Linked DNA regions of Homo sapiens: region 1 is linked to region 2. Evidence: promoter capture Hi-C in 16 types of primary human blood cells and fetal thymus (Javierre and others, 2016). All regions are on one chromosome and are shown on one strand. The core of a region is centred on a gene start or on the middle of the fragment in contact, and the rest is flanking DNA. Distances in the headings are between cores, read along the strand shown. Region 1 overlaps PCCA (propionyl-CoA carboxylase subunit alpha). Region 2 holds the start of PCCA (propionyl-CoA carboxylase subunit alpha).

The links. The method cuts DNA at HindIII sites, captures the fragments that hold promoters and counts their contacts. A CHiCAGO score of 5 or more calls a contact.
Region 1: a contact is called between a fragment that was not itself captured here and the fragment with the promoter of PCCA in region 2, in 1 of 17 cell types (M0 macrophages). The highest score is 6.9, in M0 macrophages.

The regions. Positions count from the first base shown.
Region 1 is chr13:100,228,924-100,236,095 of GRCh38, reverse strand. It overlaps PCCA (propionyl-CoA carboxylase subunit alpha), which reads right to left. Exons shown (of 24, transcript NM_000282.4): 8 at 218-254. Among named protein-coding and RNA genes, the nearest start is that of PCCA, 140 kb to the right of the region's middle. The HindIII fragment of the contact is 1,762 bases long and covers 2,273-4,034 here.
Region 2 is chr13:100,087,004-100,094,342 of GRCh38, reverse strand. It overlaps PCCA (propionyl-CoA carboxylase subunit alpha), which reads right to left and starts at 5,250. Exons shown (of 24, transcript NM_000282.4): 1 at 5,118-5,250. The coding sequence starts at 5,222. It overlaps PCCA-DT (PCCA divergent transcript), which reads left to right and starts at 5,400. Exons shown (of 2, transcript NR_132422.1): 1 at 5,400-5,710. RefSeq lists a silencer at 4,921-5,100 and enhancers at 5,381-5,640, 5,671-5,720. The HindIII fragment of the contact is 8,226 bases long and covers 4,775-7,339 here.

The DNA of each region.
Region 1 (7,172 bases), core at 1,904-4,403, 140 kb before region 2:
AAGAGTTATGTATAGTTAAGGTCAAATTACTCTTTACAGTCTCCTTTAATAATAGAATTTGGCAATTCAACTGATACATTCTTCCAGAGCAACAAGTAATCAAAATCTAAAACTATTAAAGTATTATTTGCTCTATGGGAATTACTTATTACCTGTTGACTCAACCGTATCTGCTGAAAGACACAGAAATCCTACCAAAGTTAATTTAAGGACTTACCAATTTCCCTTGCAATTCTGACAGCTTCTTCTGCATCCTGTAAAAGCAGGAAATGAGACTCAACATTAATCCCATGAGGCATTGCACAATGTCTTTAGGGCAGTCATATATTGCACTACTGTCTCCTCCGATTCATTTAATGTTCAATTTTACTACCTTCTAACCCTTTTCATTCAGAGAAATGTAAAATTAATACCATAAGTGGAATGTAAATTCTACCTCATCATTATTATATTAAGAAACTCAAAGCAGTTGAAATGAGCTGGCAGGAAGCACTACCAGAATTGCCAATGATTTGGTGCAGTTGCCGGAATTTAATGGCAGAATTTAGATGTTTACAATCAATACTGAATCATAAATCAGGTCATTAAAGCTTGTCCGCAGCCAGCTTGTTTCTGTCCAATATTATGTGTCATGTTTTCCTAGATTCTGTCAGCAGGGGGAGTTGATTCTCTATTGTTTGGGAGTAGTTGATCGATTTTGCAGAAATATGAAAGTTAATTTCCAGTACCTACAGGAATTACGAATTGTTCCAAAAAATCCTTTTGGTAATCTGCATTACCTTTTCTTTTCTATTGTTTCTTTCTTTTTTTTTTTTTTCAGGTACATATTTTATCTCTACAATTGTATCTTGTTACATAAATTAAAAAAAAACTTTAATTTCAACGAACCAACTACTGGAGGAAAAAACTCCAAAAAGCAAAAGAAAGAAAATACCTTCCTAAACAGTAAGGGGTAAAAGTTTATCCATTTAAGGATTAGTTATTGCTAAATATTAACCAATGCCACTTCTACCTCTAAGAAGATGAAAAGACAAAAACTTCCCTTGAATCTAAGTAATTTCACTGATCATTAACCCTCACCTAACACATCCAACACAGGACACTGCTGAATCATTTCCCCAAATAACAATAAAGATAATGTTGAAATCTAAGCCTCCTTCGTGTGTGTGGGTATGTGTGGGGTGTGTGTGTGTGTGTGTGTGTTTGTGTAATTCAGTGACACAAACTAAACTACCACAAAGACTGACAATATTGTTTTGAAACCACAGCTGGTAAGTGTGACTGAATTTTTAGAAAATGACTAAAATGCTGAAGTGAAGCCCAGTGTTTTTTAAGCTTTTAAGCTAATACGTTTAAAATGTAGAGCAACCATGTCAGAATCCTCCGAGAAGGGGGCGGGGGGGGATGTTTATAACTGGTTCACTTATGTCTAATAAAAAAAAATCTTCTTTAAAGTTCTTCAGTACCTAATAACATCCCCTGAATAAGGAGGTTGGCAGGGGAAGTTGTCAGAAAAATTTAATTTCCTTTCATTAGCCAGTCTGCTCCACAAATAGGTGCTTGTTAAGTTCAAAGGGGTCCTGAAAGCGACATCAGTTTTAAGTTGTTTTTTTTTTTTTTTACTCCAAGCAGTCACATCTGCTAATGAGATTTTCCAAATAACAATTGTTTTCAAGTCAGAGATAAATCTATATCTCCCACCCTATGCCTTCCAAAATCAAGGTTTACTGCTTTATTACACGTTGCTGTTTTCGCTGACCCTACATTCTCCAAACTTTAGCTTAAAGGGATGAAAATCCATGAAAAGGGTCATTTAAGAATGTTAGTGGTTTCCACACATTGAGTTGGAAGGTTCTTTGTTCCAGCCAGTGACAGTTATTGGAGAATACTTCCCCTTAATAGCCTCTCTGTCAGGAAGTGTTAAACCTGCCAAATGCGAACAATTAGTGCCTCTTGAACAAAATACAGGAAGAGTGATGGCTGATGAAGACTGGATTATAATAAACCTAGAAGAAAACTTTTAACATTTCTTTCCAACGTGATGAGAGAAAATAAACTGCTATTGTAAAAAGTTCATCACTTGAGAGAACTAACAGGCAAGTTTTAAAAGGTAATTCAAAAATTCATTAGACATATTTTGTCACTTATTTGAATATACATGTTATAGCTGGGTGTGTATGGATACATAAAGCCATATCTATATCTGACACAGCAAATTAAAAATTCCACTGCCACAAATCCAACACTTCTATAGCATGCCACAAAGCAAGCTTATCTTTCAACTTAACAGCATGCTAAGTCTTCTTACTATGAAAATTAGATTCTTCTAAATGAACTTTCAAATAAAATCAAGCTGCCTTAAAAATTAACTTTTCACTTGTCACTCATTCATCCAAAAATACTTTACTGAGGACCTATTATGCACTGGACATTAAAATCTCTATTACTGTTTCAATAATAAACTACTAAATATTATACACTCAGCCCCAATATGGTCTTTGAGAACATGAAGTTTTATTATCAGGCTCTACAAAATTACTTTTGAAGAGATAAAAAGCCCTATATAGCTCCAAATTCAATGGCACTAAGTGACATCACACTGTAAAGGTTGCCTATAACATCATAAGTTTAAAAAACTTTAATCAAACTCTGAATCAACTAAAAAAAGGACCAACAATCATCACAAAAGATTAAATTAAAAGCTCACAGAAAAACAGTTCCAGAAGCACAATATCTGTGCTCAGCCTTGCTCCTAATTACAGAAATACAAATTAAAACAATGAGATCTCACTTTTCCTCTAGCAAATTAAAATCTGATAATGGCCAGGATGACAAAGTTAAATACTTCTCATATTACTGGTGTCATAGAAAATGGGATAATCTTTTTAAAAAGAAATTGTCAGTATCTACCAAAAGTTTGAGGACACGTTATCTTTTGTTCTGAAATTTTACTCCTGGGAAGTCATCCTACAGATATACCCACATGAGTGAACACAGAGAGACATACAAAGAAATTCATTATTTTGAATTCGTTGGTGGTGTTTTAATAAGAAAAAAATTCTGAAAAACAATTTAGTAAGCCTTCAACAAAGGACTGGTACATCCATAAAATGAAATATTAGCCTTTAAAAAGAATGCAGTTGATCTATATGTTCTTATTCAACCACTTATACATTAATTCAATAACTATCTGCCCAGCAACACTACATGAAATACATCTTCTGCCTTCATGGAGCTTATTACAAACTAATGAGAGAAACAGAAAATAAACAAATCAATTGATAACTAAAATAAATGTTACATAGAAACAGAGTACTCAGGCAAGAATACTAGGGAGAACTTGTTTCAGACAGGCTGCTCAGAAAGGGCCCTTCTGGAGTAAAATTTTAAACCTAAGGATAAAGACATCTAGCCAGGCCAAGCACAGTGGCTCACACCTGTAATCCCAGCACTTTGGGAGGCCAAGATGGGAGGATCACTTGAGGGTAGGAGTTTGAGACTAGCCTGGGCAACATGGCAAGATCTCTATCTCTACAAAAAAATACAAAAATTACTGGGTGTGGTGGTGGGACCTGTAGTCCCAGCTACTTGGGAGGCTGAGGCAGGAGGATTGCATGAGCCCAGGAGGTCAGAGCTGCAGTGAGCCATGATGGCGCCACTGCACTCCTGCCTGGGAAATAAAGTGAGACTCCGTCTCTAAAACCACACACACACACACACACACACACACACACACACACACACGCATACACACACACACATAAACATAAACAGCTAGCTACCATGGAAAGATCAGGGAGAAAGAACATTAGACAGAGGGAACCACACATATAAAAATCCTAGATGAGGAAGCAATTTCATAGGGAAAGAATATCAGGCAGCTAAAGCTGAAACACAGTAAGGAAGTGGCAGCAAAGCACAAGATAAGGAGGTATGGACGGCGTGGCCCTGTTCTGGCCAGATCTTATGGGATTTGGTACACAGTCCAAGATGCCTTGGTTCTATACAAGGCAATGACAAATGACAATTAAGCTTTAAGAGAGTAACTCTTACACTGTAAAAATAAGCAAAATAAAGTATATACTGGGGGCGGGGGTAGCAAGTTGGAGTACATAGCGTATGACCTTACCTACATTAAGACAGAAATACACATTTGAACGCACAGGAAAGTTTAAGCATTAGACAGCTACAGAAACCAATTTACTGCTCAAAAGTAGGACAGACAGCCGGGCATGGTAACTCAGGCCTATAATCCCAGCTACTCAGGAGGCCCAGGCAGGAAGACCACTTGAGCCCAGGAGTTCTGTACTGACTTAAGCAACATCGCAAGACCTTGTCTATATTTAAGAATAAATAAATAAATAAATGTAAAAGGTAGGATTAAAAGTTGTAGGAAAAGGGAAATTAAAATTGTATGCTCTTAGGTACACGTTGAACTTTTTTACCATAAGAATCATAATTTCATACTTCATATTTTCATAGTTTAAAAATTAAATCAGCCATGCCTGAAGTTATCAAATTATTAATGATTTTGAGAATATTAAATGTTATCAAAACAAACTAGGAGTCCCCAAAATCACTTAAGCTTTTCATGACATCCCATTGCCTCAAAACCAAGTTTGAACTCCCTAGGCTGGTTTCAATACTTGATCCTGTCCGCCTAAGCATGAGTCTCAGCCCCACCCCTGTTCATCTTGCATCTTACCCTGCAGCCCAAGGCCCAGGCAGGCTCCCCAGCCTTGCACAGCCTTCTCAGTTCAGCCAGCCTCAGCCAGTAACTCTCTCCCCTTTTACCAAACCAGCTTTTATTACAATAGGCCCAATTCTGGGCCCTGAAGACACGGGACGGAACAAGAAAGACATCATCTTGGCCAACAGGTAATTTACAGGCTGGTGGAAAAGACAAACCTTAAATACAGCCACACAGCAGCTAAGGAATGATTATGTGGTGCATGTTATGTACAAGTTTTAAAGAGGGCATGTGACAACAGGGGATCTCTAATCCAAAAATAGATTCCTGAAAACTTTCTCAGGCGTGGTAACTGAAAAGACACCTTAGAAATAGAAGCGTAGTGAAAAACAGTGTCTGGGACCTGAAGAGAGAGGCGAGGGGAAGGCTGGGCCTCACAGCCACATGAGAGAAACTGAACTGTAGCCTCAGAGCAAGGAAATGAAGGGCTAGCTCTGGTTGCAGGCTGGAGAATTCTGGCATAGCATCTGCTTACTTATGATGTGCACTGTCCACCCTCTGCACCTCCCTAGCCCATTAAAATGTAAGCTCCATAAGGACAGAAACCCTTGTCCAGCTGGTTCAAGTTAGGTATTTCAAATCCCGAGCACACGCCTGGCACAGTTGTTATTCAACCAACAGTTGTTGGAAGAATAAATGAATGAATGAACAAACAAATGAACACTTTGAGAGGCAAGAGGGATCTGAAGAGTCAGGCTGGGAGGCAGTAGTCTGGGTGACAGGAAAATGACCATTTCCTCCCAGAGTCCAGGGTGGCATGCTTCCAGTTTCAGCTAATGCCACGTTCTTTCTTTTTTTTTTTTTTTGAGATGGGAGTCTGTCACTCAGGCTGGAGTGCAGTGGCACGACCTCGGCTCACTGCAACCTTTGCCTCCTGGGTTCAAGTAGTTCTCTTGCCTTAGCCTCCTGAGTAGCTGGGACTACAGGCAAACACCACCACACCCGGCTAATTTTTGTATTCTAAGTAGAGACAGGGTTTCACCATTTTTGGCCAGGCTGATCTCTAACTCCTGACCTCAGGTGATCCGCCCACCTCGGCTTCCCAAAGTGCTGGGATTACAGGCATGAGCCACCGCGCCCAGCCTGCCACTTTCTTTAGAGTGCCTTTCCAGTCCTCCCACACCTGGCTAGGTATCATTGCCACATGAACACATACACCACGCCCTGCAATTATGCAGCCCTTTTCACACTTAACCTTCATGAGGGCAACAACTAGCTGTCTTACTCTCTACTAAATCCCCAGAGTTTAGCAAATTAACGCAATCAACACATTATTTCTTCCATGAATAAACAACTATCCGCATCAGCTTCCATAAAAATTAGTCTGTTAGGATAAGACACAATCTCACAAATGCCAACAGAACTATTCATCTCCAGAGCAGCGGTTTTATAAGTGAGTTAACTGACATCCAAAGGCAGGGGTTCAGGGCAGGGACTCAGAACCAGACAGGCTTCTGTTAGAAATGCTTGTTCCCCAGTGCCGTAAAGAAACAGCACTGGAACATAAATTTAATTTCCTCAGCAAGGCCATGTTTACTTTCTGCAGAAAGGGTACATTCGCCAGCAGTTTTGCCACGAGAGTACATTGAACAAAGGAGACAGGGTCATTTATAACCTGAGGCGCCCACCCTACTGCTGTGTCCGGTTTCCATTGGCTGGAACAGGACCTCACATTTTGTATTTGTCCCAATTGGCTAACAACATAGAACTTTTTAAAAGAGGCAACGGCAGAGGAGAACAAAGGAAGGAGGAAGTAACTTGTGGAATACTGAGAAAGGTAAAAACACCTTCAAATAAGGAAGAGGAACAGGCTATGACTTAATGCTTGCTTGGACCAGTATAAGCATGCCAGGGCAAATATTTAGGCTAAATTGTGGGAGCTGAGAACATAAAGTACATTGATTTCTTTATTACAGCTAGCAGATATTTAAGAATGTTAGCACAGGTCTTAGAATAAATTTTGCTTCTAAGAGAAGTTACTATTTATTCCTAATTAGATGGGGAGGAAAGTCTTTGAAGAGGAACCTCTACTTTACTTTTTACACTTCAGTTTTGCTTCAGTTTAAAACAAGGTGCACTCAGTGAAATACTGTTGGCATTGGGCAAAACCAAGCCCAATATTTTTGGGATTCTCAGTCCAGCACTTCTTCCACCACATCATGCAACTTCCAGAGTTTGAATTTTAGGTTTTGTAAAACCTGCTCTTCTAAAAAATATAGTTCTACTCCATAATTTTTAAGTAAAGTGTTGCATTAGGAAAAAAAAAAAATCAAATTCTACATGGCAATAAGTTTTCAAATTGAAAAGCCACAAGTTTAAGTTATAATACAAAACAAAAGAAAGCAGCTCATTTCAATGTATAGATATCAAACTTTATTTCATAAAAATGTAAAAGGTTAAACTTTATTTTACTAAATATACT
Region 2 (7,339 bases), core at 4,001-6,500:
AAAAGCAGTATTTTTTGTATATAACACTTTACCATGCTACTAAAATTATTCTCATTAAAGATCAAAGATCTTTTCAAATTCTTTCACCAATCTTTTTTTTTTTTTTTTTTTTTTGAGACAGATTTTCGCTCTTGTTGCCCAGGCTGGAGTGCAGTGGTGCAATCTCGGCTCACTGCAACCTCCACCTCCTGGGTTCAAGTGATTCTCCTGCCTCAGCCTCCCAAGTAGCTGAGATTACAGGCATGCGCCACCATGCCCGGCTAATTTTGTATTTTTAGTAGAGACGGGATTTCTCCATGTTGGTCAGGCTGGTCTTGAACTCCCGACCTCAGGTGATCTGCCTGCCTCGGCCTCCCAAAGTGCTGGGATTACAGGCATGAGCCATCGTGCCCAGACTTTTTTTTGAGACAGGGTCTTGCTGTGTCACCCAGGCTGTAGTACATTGGTGTGATCACAGCTCACTGCAGCCTTGACCTCCTGGGCTCAAGTGATCCTCCCTCCTCAGCCTCCCAAGTACCTAGAACCACAGGCACGTGCCACCACACCCAGCTAATTTTTATTTTATTTTATTTTATTTTGTAGAGATAGCCGGGGGTGGGGGTGGTATCATTATGTTGCCTAGGCTGGTCTCAAACTCCTGAGCTCAAGAAATCCTCCCACTTTGGCCTCCCAAAGGGTTGAGATTGCAGGCGTGAGCTACCACACCTGGCCTCATCAATCTTTTATTCCTTAGCCTCTCTGCACCTGGGACATAGTTAGGGAATATGTTTTAATTTCTTTTTCTCTCCTCTGTACGTGCCATAGTACCTGGAACTTAGAAAATGCTCCACAAACACTTTCTGAGTAAAGAGCTAGATCTCTAGACAAATGAATGAATGAATGCTAACTACTTCTTGAAATTTCTTTCCTAGGTTTGGTAACACTACACTACATTGGCTCCTCTCAAACCATACCTCTAACTCCTCTTGTCTCTTCTTCCTTCTTCCAAATCCTAATTTAGGGTTATAAAACGAAGCATTTATTCAATTAAATATTAACTGACTCACTATATCCGTCAGGGCTCACAGTTCTAACTCTAACTCTAGCCTCGTATCCCTGGCCCAAAAGCCAGCCACTGATACCCAGCACCTCAGCATGGCTCCTGCGGGCATCTAACTCCAGATACCTACAATGAAACACTATGTTTCCAGCCCCACCAAAAAAGTGTTTCTTCCCAAATTCCTTTTTCATCCTTGTTCTCCCACCTACATTTTTTAAAGTTTGGAATCATTTAAACAAATCCTTTTCCCTCACTCTTCATCAAAAATGTCACATCTTTTCCTCTTAGAAAAGGACTAGAGCAGTTTTTACCTCTGTTCTGAACCTCTCAGGAACAGAATAAAATCCAAATGGTAGATGTATAAATATATAAATGTCTATAAACATTTTTTTACACCAGAAACTAGTTTCTGTAATAATCTCAGAAATTTCTTTTCCCAAATGATTTGTCAGAAATTTATCAGCATGTTGGAAACATTAACCTCCAGGCAATTCTAAAGCATTCATATAAGCCTAAACATTCTTTTCCATATTTACTGATTACAAAAGAAAATAATGGATGTCAAGTAACACAGGGCTTAAACATTCAAATTTCATGAATGCATCACACAATGAGACCATGATTCAAATGAGACAATTTGTAATTAGAAAAGCAAGCTGAGGTGGGTGGATTGCTTGAGTTCAGGAGTTTGAGACCAGCCTGGGCAACATAGCAAAACCCCATCTCTACAAAAAATAAAAATTAAAATTAAAAAATAGCCAGGTGTGGTCGTACGTGCCTGTGGTCCCACCTACTTGGGAGGCTGAGATGGGAGGATGGCTTGAGCCCAGGAGGCAGAGGCTGCAGTAGGCCAAGATCATGCCACTGCACTCCAGCCTGGCCAACAGAGCCAGACCCCATCTCAAAAAAAAAAAAGGAAGAAAGAAAAGAAAGCCTTCAGAATCATATTATCTAAGGTTCAAATTCTACTTCAGCCAATTGTGCTTTTAAGCAACTACTTAACTGCCCTGAGCTTTGTTTCCTCTACTGTAAAATTGGGATTTTTTACCTAGTTGTTATAAGGATAAAAGATATATGAAAAATCACACCATTGGGCTCGGTGGCTCATGCCTGTAATTCCAAGCACTTTGGGAGGCCAAGGCAGTGGATCAAGAGGTCAGAAGATCGAGGTGGCCAACATGGTGAAACCCCATCTCTACTAAAATACAAAAAAAAATTAGCCGGTGGTGGTGGCGTGCGCCTGTAGTCCCAGCCACTTGGGAGGCTGAGGCAAGGGAATCACTTGAACCCAGGAGGTGGAGGTTACAGTGAGCTGAGATCGCGCCACTGCACTCCAGCCTGGCAACAGAGCGAGACCCCATCTCAAAAAAAAAGAAAAGCAAAGAAAAATCATGCAAGGCATATAAGAGTTCAATAATAACTATAGCAATTACCATAAAACCAACATCCTAGAGCCACTGAAAACATTTACGCAGAAGAAAAAACTAGGCATTAAAACAGAATGTGCTTAAAAAGCTGATACACAAAACAAATAAGACTAAAAGGTGAACTCTACATATACCCTAAAAATAAATAAACTCTGTTGACTGGCTAAAAGAATGGTCAGAATTCTCTAGACTAGACCCTAGAGTTAGCTGGCTGCTTTTCAACCAACCAAAAGGTTTGCAGAGGTGGAGGGAGGGATGGGAGGGGTTAAAATCTTCAAAAGATTCAGCTTCAAACAGACTCAGTAGAGCATATTTCAAGTTCATAGAAGAGAAGCGCAGAGAGAAGCTAAGCAGCAGCTCAAGTTCCCCTAGAGTGATAGTGAACTTCAGAGATGCTTCCCACCCCAAGGAGGAATTCTTTACCGGCACAAACATAATGCTACTCTATTGTTACACATTCAGCACCTATTGTGTCAAACATTGTACTAAGAACACAGAAATAGACAAGATGCAGTCTCTGCCAACACATTAAAAGGAAAAAACCAGGTAAGAATCATCAAAGCGTATGTATTACACAGTAAGTGTATAACAAGTGTACAACAGTAAGTACAGTAACAGCCTTCCTCTCAGCCTCTCCAATCTAAAATGTCAGTGTCATCCCTCCCACCTCCAACATCAATGTCTTCCCACTGCTCTAAGACAAACACCAAACCTCATAATGTGATCTATAAGAGCCAGATGGTCTGACTCCTGCCAGCTTCCCCAACACCATCTACTCTCTGCATCAGAGCCTCTGTAGGCTTTTTTCAGTTCTTCTAACCTGTCATTCCCTCTGGCCACAGGACCTTTGCATACACTGCTCTCTCACCTATAACATTCATCTCTGTTTGTTAGAAAAGGTCACTTCATCCTTCAAAACTTGTCTCAATTTTCAGTTCCAAAGGAAAACACTCCCTTACCGTAGATAGCATAGTATGATTAAGAGCACAGGTTCTGGAGTTCTAAATCCTGTTTGCCACTTATTGGCACTATAGCTTCGAGCAAGTCACATTAACACTCAGTGCCTCACTTTCATCTTCTGTAAATGGGGGACATACGACTGTTGTGAGATTGAATAAATTAGTTCAAGCAAAGCAACAGAACAGTATCTAGAACACAGAATTCAAAATCTTGGCTTGGTCAAATCCCTCTATTTTATTTTCTTATAGCACCCGGGCATCTCCCCTAATACCATTTTACACTTGTTACAGTCTCCCTACTAGAGTAAAATTTCTAAGAAAGCAGAAACCATATTCATTCCCCAGAAGTGGAAGACAGGAGATATTCAGTAAATATTTGTTGAAAAAAATAGCTACAAGGACGAAGCTGACGCCCAAGGAAGAGACCTGTCCAATATACAAAGCCTCATGCGCCTGACCCCAAAGCCCACACTTTACACCATACTAACTTGCCTCCTATGTAAATGCATAAGTCTTACAGCTGCAATTGAAGTGGCCAACACAGATGAACAGAATGATAAAGATTAAAGAACACTAAACTGTATGGGAACACAGAAAACAGTGAAAGTCCGCACGCTGAATTGGACACAAAACAAACATAGGTGCCACTCACTTCCATGTCGATAAGCTCCAGCTCTCATACTGCCCACCTGGGGCTCGGTTCCCTCCTCTTTAAAGAGTAGGATGGGGCAGGTCGTCTCTAAAGTGTCTTCAACGTCTAAAATTAAATGACTATAAATCAAGTTATGTGGCAATGTTTTAATAATTATTTTTTAAAAGGAAGTTTAACAAGCACACTGAACCAGCTGACAGATGGTTTTCAGGGGACCTTCATTTTAAAGAATGTGTTCAAGTGCCTCAACAAACCTTATAAAGTAGGTTAGGTGGTCTGTGCCCCAGAATTAACGACAGACTCGACATTGACTGGAGACAGAGCTCAGAAGCACACACAAGCACTCCAACCTGTTTGTCAATCTGCCATCATGACAGCCTAGGTATACAGAACAGTCATGAAATGTGTTTAGAACAGTGCCAAAATCAGGCTCACCACTATACCGAAAAGGAAAGTAAGTTCACGGGATGCATTTGGTACACAGTAGACTGGGGTGTCATACAATTAAAACAGGCTTTCAAATGAAACGTAAAATCTATTGGCAGTCCTGACATGGTATAATACTTTAAAAGATAAGACAAACTCACAACCCTAACACTACTTAAGCAACAGTTCACAGTGTCCCTTCAAAAATGCTGGAAAGAGGCAACAGAACACGGAAACTATAAGGACACCTAAAAAGACACCCTGGAAAGCTTAAGACAAAGCCAATGCCGCGGGGCCCTGGAAGCAGACCTCGAGCAATATGCCTGCCCAAAGCCATCAGCCGCCTCGGAGGGCGTGCGGGCACCCAACTGCCTCTGCCCTAGGCCTCTCTGCTCCGCAGGATCCCCGCGAGGAACAGCTGCAACGAGGGATGCCTCCTGAGCCCGCTGCCACGCGAACTCCGGGAGGGAGGAAAGCAAGCGGTGTAGCTGATGCGGAACCGGGGCGCGGGGGCAGCCGGACCCAGCCAGCGCTCTCCCGGCGCCAGCCGCCCAGAGGCGGCACGGCTAGAAGCCCAGTGAAGCCCGGACCCGCGAGGCCCCGTTGCTCCTCACCTTCAGGGTCCGCAGCGCCGCGCTCAGCATCAGCTGCTGCGGCGGCCACCGCCCACGCCGTCCGGCAGCGACCAGCGGTGCTGTCCCGACCCAGAACCCCGCCATTGTTGTCCCCGCAGACCGCCCCTCTGCTGACCTCTCACACAGCCGGAGGGGGTGGAGAAGGGGAGCGCAGGAGCTCCGGCAAATCACGAGCCAGAAACCCGATGCCCCGCCCCCTAACTTGCGGAAAGGGGAGGGTGAGTGGTCGGCCAGATCCGCCGGATCCGGGATCCGGGAGTCGCGCTAGGACCTGGAGGGCTAGTCGGCGGGCTGCGCGTCCGGCCGCTAGCTGAGCTGGAGGCCACCGGCCAGAGCCGACCCCAGGAGTGAGAGAGACAGGGGCGTGCGTGAGTTCCGGCGGCCTGCACCGGGCAAACCCCGTACCTTCCCAGCATCGGCTCAGCAACCCACGTGCATCCAGGCCGGTCAATGTCATTGAGTCACCTCCGCGCCTTGGCCACCCTGGAGTCCCGAGAATCCGAAGTTCCAGACAAATGCCCAAACTACATTCCTGCATGTTCGAAAGCGTAAATTGCAAAGCACAAATCCAGGTAAGGTTTTTAACGACTGTAATAACACATAAAAAGTTCTAGGTCTGGAAATCAGAGATCCGAGCTCAAGTCCTACCTCTGGCACTTAATATGTGTGTGTGAAAGAAATTAGCCACAACTAGAGTCAGTCTTTGTTGCTCGCAAGCAGAAACCCTTGTTAGTACAACTACTGGCCAGGCGCAGTGGCTCACGCCTGTAATCCCAGCACTCTGGGAGGCCGAGGCGGGAGGATAACCTGAGGTCAGGAGTTGGAGACCAGCCTGGACAACATGCCGAAACCCCGTCTCTACTAAAAAATACAAAAATTAGCTGGGCGTGGTGGCGCACTCCTGTAATCCCAGTTACTCGGGAGGAGGCTGAGGCAGGAGAATTGCTTGAACCCTGGAGGTGGAGGTTGCAGTGAGCCGGATCATGCCACTACACTCCAGCCTGGGTGACAGAGCAAACTCCGTTTCGAAAAATAAAATAAAAATTAGTACAACTATTAAGGGCCGGGCCGTGTGCTAGAGCCTCAGATTCCCTCTTACTTGAGAGTTTACAAGAACCTTAATGGAGTATATATTATTTCCATTTGGAGAAACTGAAGCTGTAGCAGGGTAAAGTCACTCAGCGAGTAAAAGGTCAAACTAGGGTTTGAACCCAAATCTGGCTGCCTTGAGGGACTGGGCTCATGTTTTGCTATATTATGGAAATTTTAAAATATATACAAAAGAGATAAAATTGTACTATGATCACCCAGATACCCATTACACCGCGTCAATGAATCAACATTTTGTCAATCTTGTTTCATCTATTCCCCTTTTTATTTTGTGCAGGAATATTTTAAAGCAAATCTAAGACATCAGACCACCTCACCTATAAACACATCAGTATTGGGGGTTCTCCTCTTAACTACTTTGCATCTCCTGCAGAGTCACCTTGAGAGAGTTACAAAGCTAGGAATGGCCTAGAGTACACTACAGCATGGTAAATGCCCAAAGAGAGAGAAATAAAATGGGGATATCAGAAAGGTGACATTTAATGGAATTTTAGAATGTAAGTAGGGACTTTTGTGACAAAATGAAAAGGATTATCAATTTTACAGGACTTCTCACTTATGTACCTCAGTCTTCATTCATTTTCTACCTGGGAAACTTGCTTTTCTTTTTTCTTTTGTTTTTTGTCTTTTCCCCATGTTTTACCCTTTGGATTAGTTTTCCTTAGGCCCTGTTTGTTTTTCTTATAGGAGTTCTTTTTATGAAAGGCACTTGTAGCAGAAACTGCTTCTCATGCTATCCATTCTCCATGCATTACTTTAGTAAGAGTGCCCCTGAGATCTAGCTGGGTACATGGCCACCCAGCGAAAGGCTGCAATAGCTAGCCTCCCTTACAACGAGGTGTAGCGCCATGACTAAGGTCTGGAATGTAAGGACTGTGCCCTCCATGCCCTCTTCTTTCTTACCTAAACAAAGATCTACATTTCCCAACTCCCACTGCAGCAAGGGTGCTTACCAAGATTTGGTTACTAAGTTTTGGCCAATGGGACATAAGCACAAGTGACATAGACAACTTTTGGGTTATACCTTTAAAGGGAAAGGCTTGCTTTCCACTTGCCCTTCTCCTCTTTCCAGTTTGCCAGAATGTGGACAC